2 separate regions of the Homo sapiens genome follow, and region 1 is linked to region 2. The links are contacts of gene promoters, found by promoter capture Hi-C in human tissues and cell types (Jung and others, 2019). All regions are on one chromosome and are shown on one strand. The core of a region is centred on a gene start or on the middle of the fragment in contact, and the rest is flanking DNA. Distances in the headings are between cores, read along the strand shown. Region 1 overlaps VPS37D (VPS37D subunit of ESCRT-I). Region 2 holds the start of MLXIPL (MLX interacting protein like).

What was found. Contacts are between HindIII fragments. The study calls those that stand out against the background at their distance.
Region 1: a contact is called between a fragment that was not itself captured here and the fragment with the promoter of MLXIPL in region 2, in 1 of the 25 tissues and cell types used here (dorsolateral prefrontal cortex).

What each region holds. Positions count from the first base shown.
Region 1 is chr7:73,672,020-73,675,592 of GRCh38, reverse strand. It overlaps VPS37D (VPS37D subunit of ESCRT-I), which reads right to left. Exons shown (of 4, transcript NM_001077621.2): 4 at 3,483-3,573. Among named protein-coding and RNA genes, the nearest start is that of VPS37D, 6.0 kb to the right of the region's middle. The HindIII fragment of the contact is 1,779 bases long and covers 935-2,713 here.
Region 2 is chr7:73,622,667-73,626,413 of GRCh38, reverse strand. It overlaps MLXIPL (MLX interacting protein like), which reads left to right and starts at 1,892. Exons shown (of 17, transcript NM_032951.3): 1 at 1,892-2,214. The coding sequence starts at 1,922. The HindIII fragment of the contact is 21,137 bases long and covers 1-3,747 here.

The DNA of each region.
Region 1 (3,573 bases), core at 575-3,074, 49 kb before region 2:
GCAATGATAAGCTTAGACACAACCAGAGGCCCTTTGGTACAGTAACACCAGTTCCTTCACTCAGTCTTTTGTGTATAATCCCCGTATACACTGGGATAAACCTGCAGCAAGTCCAACTGGGTCTCTTAGAAACCATTCGATTCTCCAGCCTTGGAGGTTAGGGGCAAGTTCTTAGCCATGGCTTTGCAGGGACTACACGATTCAGTGGTGAAGGTTTGAGCCCACACTGGTTGGAGCCTGCTTAGCTCAGTGAGCCTTGATTGGTTAGGAAAAAGAAAAAGCAATTTAATGTTACTATGTTTCATATTTGGAAACCAAGATGGGGAAGGTTAGAAAAATGCAGAAGCTAGTGATTCACAAACAAGGAGGTGTACATAATAGACTTTCTTGAGGAACAGGGAGCTCTGTTTTTATTAAAAGGGGTGGGAGTTTTATTTGGAGACTTCTTTGGTTTTGTTTTGTAAAAGCAAAATGGTATCTAATAGGTAGGACCTTTTTCATGAGCCCCCTGATGCAGACCCTCAAGTTTGTTTTCTCTCACAGATCACAGCCAGGAACATTCCTGGGGCCCCCTGAATCTAGAAGCAGCAAGTTCAAGAAGGTTTTAGGCAAAAGGAAGGGCCCAGAGTGCTGCACCTTCCAGAACATTCCAGAACCTTCCTGAACATTCCATGTACCTTCAAGCAAAAGGGGTTAATGATTTTTCAAACCATCCAACTGTAAGCCTTTCCATGGCCCACCCAGAACTGGGCCCACTCCACTCTGGTGGTGTCCATCCTCACCTGCCTCCGATCATTTTCAGGCTGGAGCTGAACACAGAGGGGTCTCACTCCCTGCCCCTCTAAAGAAGAATCAGCTCTGTGCAAGACAAGGTGTGTGGGAGGCCTTCTGAAGGACCCCATCTGGTTCCCATGGTAACACTTCTTCCTAGTCCCTCTCTTGTCCATGTCTCAACTTTCTCTGCTTCTTACCTACCCTGAGGAGGGGAGGCTCAACCTGGTAGCTGCTGCCTTCTAAAGGCTGCTCCCCAATTCATGATAGTGGAGAAAGGTCCAGACCTGCCCAACCTTTGCCCCTTTTTACCTTTTGGTTGCAAACTCTACACCATGTCAATCATGAAGGAGAGCCAAAAAAAAAAAAAAAAAAGTGGGGACCGGGCACTGTGGCTTACACCTGTGATCCCAGCACTTTGGGAGGCTGAGGCGGGCGGATCACGAGGTCAGGAGATGGAGACCATCCTGGCTAACATGGTGAAACCCCGTCTCTACTAAAAATACAAAAATAATTATAATTAGCCAGGCATGGTGGCAGGCGCCTGTAGTCCCAGCTACTCAGGAGGCTGAGGCAGGAGAATGGCATGGACCCAGGAGGTGGAGCCTGCAGTGAGCCGAGATCACGCCACTGCACTCCAGCCTGGGCGACACAGCGAGACTCCGTCTCAAAAAAAAAAAAAAAAAAAAAAAAGCCAGGTGCGGTGGCTCACGCCTGTAATCCCAGCACTTTGGGAGGCCAAGGCGGGCAGATCACCTGAGGTCAGGAGTTTGAGACCAGCCTGACCAACATGGAGAAACCCCGTCTCTACTAAAAATACAAAATTAGCCGGGCTTGGTGACACATGCCTGTAATACCAGCTACTCGGGAGTGTGAGGCAGGAGAATGGCTTAAACGTGGGAGGCAGAGGTTCCAGTGAGCCGAGATCGCTCCATTGCACTCCAGCCTGGGTGAGAAAAGCGAAACTCCATCTCAAAAAAAAACAAAAAGCAAAAAAAAACAAAAAACAGCAGGGAACCATGCATTTTCAGAAAAATGGGACAAAGGTACTTTTTCGTGGGAATGGACTGCTTTGCACCCTGGAAGCTTGGACCAGGAATGGGAAGCCAGGGCAGGAGGGGCCCATCCTGCCCCAGACTGTGCTGAGAAGGAGAGCATGGGGGAGAGGTCTTCCAAGGCTGCTCAGTCTTTGGTCATATCAGCAGGAACTCAGCGGTTCTGGTGTCCCTTGGCCTCCAGCAGCTGAAGTGCCAGCAGTGAAGAGAGTAGAACCAAGACCAAGGTGGGATGGAGGTTCTAAAGTGGGCACTCTCAGTGCTTAAACTGTGCCTGTACTAGGGGGACACTCTGACTGTCTAGGCCTGAGGCTCTAAAGCTCCCACAGCCCAATCCCTCTAGCTACAGCCGACATCTCTAAAAAGCCCATCAAGCAGTTGCTGCCCCCACATCGTCAGGGATGGGGACCATCCACCTCACAGAACACCCCTAACTTTTTTTTTGGGTGGGGGGACGGAGTTTCACTTTTGTCGCCCAGGCTGGAGTGCAGTGGCGTGATCTTGGCCCACTGCAACCTCTGCCTCCCGGGTTCAAGCAATTCTCCTGCCTCAGCCTCCTGAGTAGCTGGGATTACAAGTCCCTACCACCATGCGTGGCTAATTTTTGTATTTTTAGTAGAGATGAGTTTTCGCCATGTTGGCCAGGCTGGTCTTGAACTGCTGACCTCAGGTGATCCACCCACCTTGGCCTCCCAAAGTGCTGGGATTACAGGCATGAGCCACCGCTCCTGGCCTCATCCCTAATTTAAGAGCCTCAAACGGAGCCAAAATCCGGCCCCTTACGGTTTCCACCAATTGGTCTTAGCTTTGACCTGTGGTTCCCACCCACTGGTCTTGGCTTTAACCTCTGGTTCTAGGTGACCCAACCCTTTAGAGATTCAAAGGCTGAACATCACACACAAACACATTTGAAACAGATCCCTCAACTGTTCCTCACTGACTGTTCTTTCTCATCCTTGTTTCTCCAAAGGTGCCATTTGGGGCGGGTGGGGGGAGGGGACCCTCTTCCAGTAAAAAACTTAAGTGAAAAGCAAAGCTACCCCAACACCTTCCTCTTTCCAGATAGTTATGTCCTTATTAACATGGACCAACACCATATTAGCTTTGTAGGCTTCCACAACACTGTGACTGTCCCCTTTTGTTTGCAAGAACTTCCACGCCTCCCTGCCAAACTGCATCTCATTGGACTTGACCTAAGCTGACCCAGGGTATATCCCACCTCCTTGTTCCACAATCATCAGCCAAACTGGCACCTAGCATTCCCCCTGGCTGAGGACAGATGCCATCAGTCCTGCAAAATGCCCTCCATCACTCCGTGGGGACCGTCATTTGGCAGGCCAGAGAAGACCAGGTACCATCCCGATTGGGCTTATGGGCAACCCAGGAAAAGATGCGTACAGGTGAGGCAATTGGAGAACCAAGATGGAGCAGTGAGCGCTTCTGACTGGAAATGCCGGGAAGTTAAGATTTAGGAAAGGCTCTCAACGGGTTGGTAATCAGAGAAGGCTTCATGGAAGAGGCAGCGGCGGTGTTGGACCCGGACAGCTGGGCTTTGCATGGGCAGAAAGGAGGGGAGAGCATCTCAAAAGTAGGAAGTGGAAGCACAGGAGCTGAGCTGTGGAGGCTGCAACAGCAGAGAGGAGTCGGGCAGCATCGTCATCCTCATCATCACATTTATTGACGGCCCCTAAGAGGCGGGGCTGGGGACAGAACGTACAAAGACAAGGACCTGCCCTCAAAAAGCTTC
Region 2 (3,747 bases), core at 643-3,142:
GGAGGATCGCTTTGGCCCAGGAGTTTGAGGCTGCAGTGAGCTATGACCGTGCCTCTGCACTCCAGCCTGGGTGACAGAGCGAGACCCTGTCTCTAAAAATATATAAATAGGCTGGGCACGGTGGCGCATGCCTGGAATCCCAGCACTTTGAGAGGCTGAGGTGGGCAAATCGCTTTAAGGTCAGGAGTTTGAGACCAGCCTGGCCAGCATGGAGAAACCTCGTCTCTACTAAAAATACAAAAATTAGCTGGGCATGGTGGCGGGCACTTGTAATCCCGGCTACTCAGGAGGCTAAGGCAGGAGAATCGCTTGAACCAGGGAGGCAGAGGTTGCAGTGAGCCGAGATCGTGCCATTGCACTCCAGCCTGGGTGACAGAGTGAGCCTCCGTCTCAAAACAATAAATAAATAGAAGTATATAGATAAATAAAAATACAAAGAAGCAGGAACAAAAGCTGGACCTCAGTGTCAGTGAGAGAAGGGGCTCAGAGCTCCTGGGTAGATGCCTGCCTAGGGGATGTCCACCTTCCAGTGAGCCACCCATCCCTACCAGTAACAGTCCCTCGAGGCTCCCCTTGGGCCTCTCTGTGCAGGTGAAGTAATGATCACAATTTTTTTAATATATATTTTTTCTTAAGTATTTTATTTTGTTTTTGAAACAGGATTTCACTGTTGCCCAGGGTGGAGTGCAGTAGGGCGCGATCTCGGCTCACTGCAACCTCCACCTCTTGGGCTCATGTGATTCTTCCACCTCAGCCTCCCGAGTAGCTGGGATTATAAGCCAAGCACGCATCGTCACATCCGGTAATTTTTGTATTTTTAGTAGAGAAGGGGTTTCTCCATGTTAGCCAGGCTGGTTTCGAACTCCTGGCCTCAAGTGACCCACCCACCATGGCCTCCCAAAGTGCTAGGATTGAAGGCGAGAGCCACCGCGCCCGGCCACCGTGTTGGCCACCATGTTAACTAGAGGTGTTAGCAACCTCCTGTGGGCCAGGCCCTTCAGGGGCATTACCTTGGGCTTACCACATCAGGCCCCTGAGAGTTGGGGGCTTCTACCTATGTGGAGGACCCAGAAGAGCTAATATGGGGGGCGGGGGTTGGAGGTGAAGGGCAGGAGTTAGGTGAGGGGAGATGGTGATCTCTGGCCTCACAGGAGGGTGCCCCTGAAAGAACAAACCCCAGGTCCTGAGGCGCTTTCAGGCTCAGGTGTGATAGGGGACCCTTTTGTTGTGGAGACAGGGTCTCACTCTGTCATCCAGGCTGGAGTGCAGTGGCGCGATCTCCGCTCACTGCAGCCTCAACCTCTTGGTCTCAAGCGATTCTCCCACTTCAGCCTTCGGAGTAGCTAGGACTACATGCACACGCCACCATGCCTGGATAATTTTTGTATGTTTGGTAGAGACAGGGTTTTGCCATATTGTCGAACTCCTGGGCTCAAGGAATCCTCCCACCTCAGCCTCCCCAGTAGCTGGTATTACAGGCTTTCTCCACTATGTCCGGCTAATTTTTGCATTTTTTTGGTAGAGATGGGGGTCTTGCCATATTGCTCAGGCTGGTCTCGAACTCCTGACCTCAAGCCATCCTCCCGCCTTGGCCTCCTAAAGTGCTAGGATTACAGGCAAGAGCCCCTGGCGTCCGGCCTGACCTTTCTTAATATCCCTTTGGAGCAAAGTAGGGGCGGCTCTATCAGGACTCCAAGGAAAGACGGGAAGGGAGATGGGGCCAACCCGCCAGAGCTCCAGAGCACCGGGTTCTCACCTGGCGTAAGGATTATGCTAATACAAGCCCCGCCCCGTCCCAGGCCCCGCCCACCCGATCGGCCTATGGTGTGGGGGCGGGGCTATGTTAATGAGGCCCGGCTGGCCAAGAGCTGTTCCCCGCGCTGCGCGGAGCAGGGACCAGGCGGTTGCGGCGGCGACAGCCATGGCCGGCGCGCTGGCAGGTCTGGCCGCGGGCTTGCAGGTCCCGCGGGTCGCGCCCAGCCCAGACTCGGACTCGGACACAGACTCGGAGGACCCGAGTCTCCGGCGCAGCGCGGGCGGCTTGCTCCGCTCGCAGGTCATCCACAGCGGTCACTTCATGGTGTCGTCGCCGCACAGCGACTCGCTGCCCCGGCGGCGCGACCAGGAGGGGTCCGTGGGGCCCTCCGACTTCGGGCCGCGCAGTATCGACCCCACACTCACACGCCTCTTCGAGTGCTTGAGCCTGGCCTACAGGTGAGGGCGGTTCCGGGCCCTGACGGCCTTGGCTTCCAGGTGGGGATGGGGGGGGGGTCCGGGGCAGGACTGCGCGCTGGGGCCCTCAACACCCCACCCGAGCCCGGTCCTGCGGCTCCCGGAGGCTCCGATCACGCCCTGGACACCCCCTTTCTCCCAGCCCCGAGGTCCTCCTACAGCGGCCCAGCCCGCTGGCCCCTGACGGACCCACGCATTTCTGATTCCCATTCCTCCCCCATTCCCTCTTCCCCGAAGCGCAGACCGCCTGCGCCCCACCTCTACCTGGACCTCTGGTCCCCTCTCTCTGGTCCCAGCCCCTCCGTCCCTACAAAAATGCCAGGCGCCCCTGGTCCCTAGGCCACCCGCGCCCATCCCCACTCTCCACTCTGGAGCCACTCCACCCGACCCCCTGCAGGCCTCGGCCTTCTCCCCAGCAGCCCCGGCCCAAGCCCGCCCTATTCCTGGACCCTGAGATACTCCCAGCGCCCCTGATTGTCCCAGTTCATAACCAAAGTGGACTGGAACTGGCCCACTCTCACGTCCACCTCCCCGCAATTGCTGAGACACCTCTTCTTGATCTGCTACATTAAGGGTGGCGGGAGGAGGATGTCCCAGAAATGTCCAAGAGGCGCAGCTCGCAGAGGTTACGCCGGTGCCCGGGAGGCCTGGGTTCGCCTACCCACGTCGCCACACTAGGCTGAGCGCCCGTCGCTGCCTGGGACCCCCGCTTAGTGCCACCGAGAGCGCACAGGCCGCGCCCCGCTGCCGCTCCACGCCCCGCGTCCCAGAGGAGGGCGCGAACCCGAGGCCTGGCCCAGTGCCCTGGAGCAAAGTTCCCCGGAGTTGAGGGGCCAGTATAAATTATCAACCGAAAACCCGTAGGGGAGAAAGGGGGATCGGCCGGCCTTGATCTTTTCTCTGTGCAAATATTCCTCTTCCTCCGCGGCGCCTCCTCCCCTTCTGAGAACCGCTGGCTACAGATCGGCACCTGCCGCCCTGCGGGGGAGCAGGAGCTGGGGTGGGGACTGTGAGGGGAGTGTTGCCTGCCCCCAACCGCAGCCGCCCAGCTGCGACCCCATTGGCTGGAGGCGGAGTAACCTTGGCCCACAAGCTCTGGCCCCTGGCCCAGGTCATGTTGCAACCCGATCGGCCAGGGCGTCGGACCCGTGTGGAAAGTTCAAATTCCCGTCCCTTCTCCCTCCCTCCCCAAATGTCACGCGACTGCCTGGGACAGGGCATCTAAGGTCCTGGTACACCGGATGCCGGCACTCCTCCTCCTAAGGGTCTCCCATTTCCCACCCAACCCCAACTTTGGCTGCTCATTATATACTACACATCACTCTATTTGGGAGGGGGCCTCACTTCCAACCCTGACGATGGGTGACCAAAGAGGAGAGGTTCTGGGGAGCTGGCAAGGTAAGGGACAGAGCGCACCCCCAAAATTGCCCCCCCACCCAGAGGCTGACTCAAGGCTGATGTAACCCCAGTCAGAGATAGCTGGGGTAGAGAGGACTGTGTTTTCTTCCCAAATAC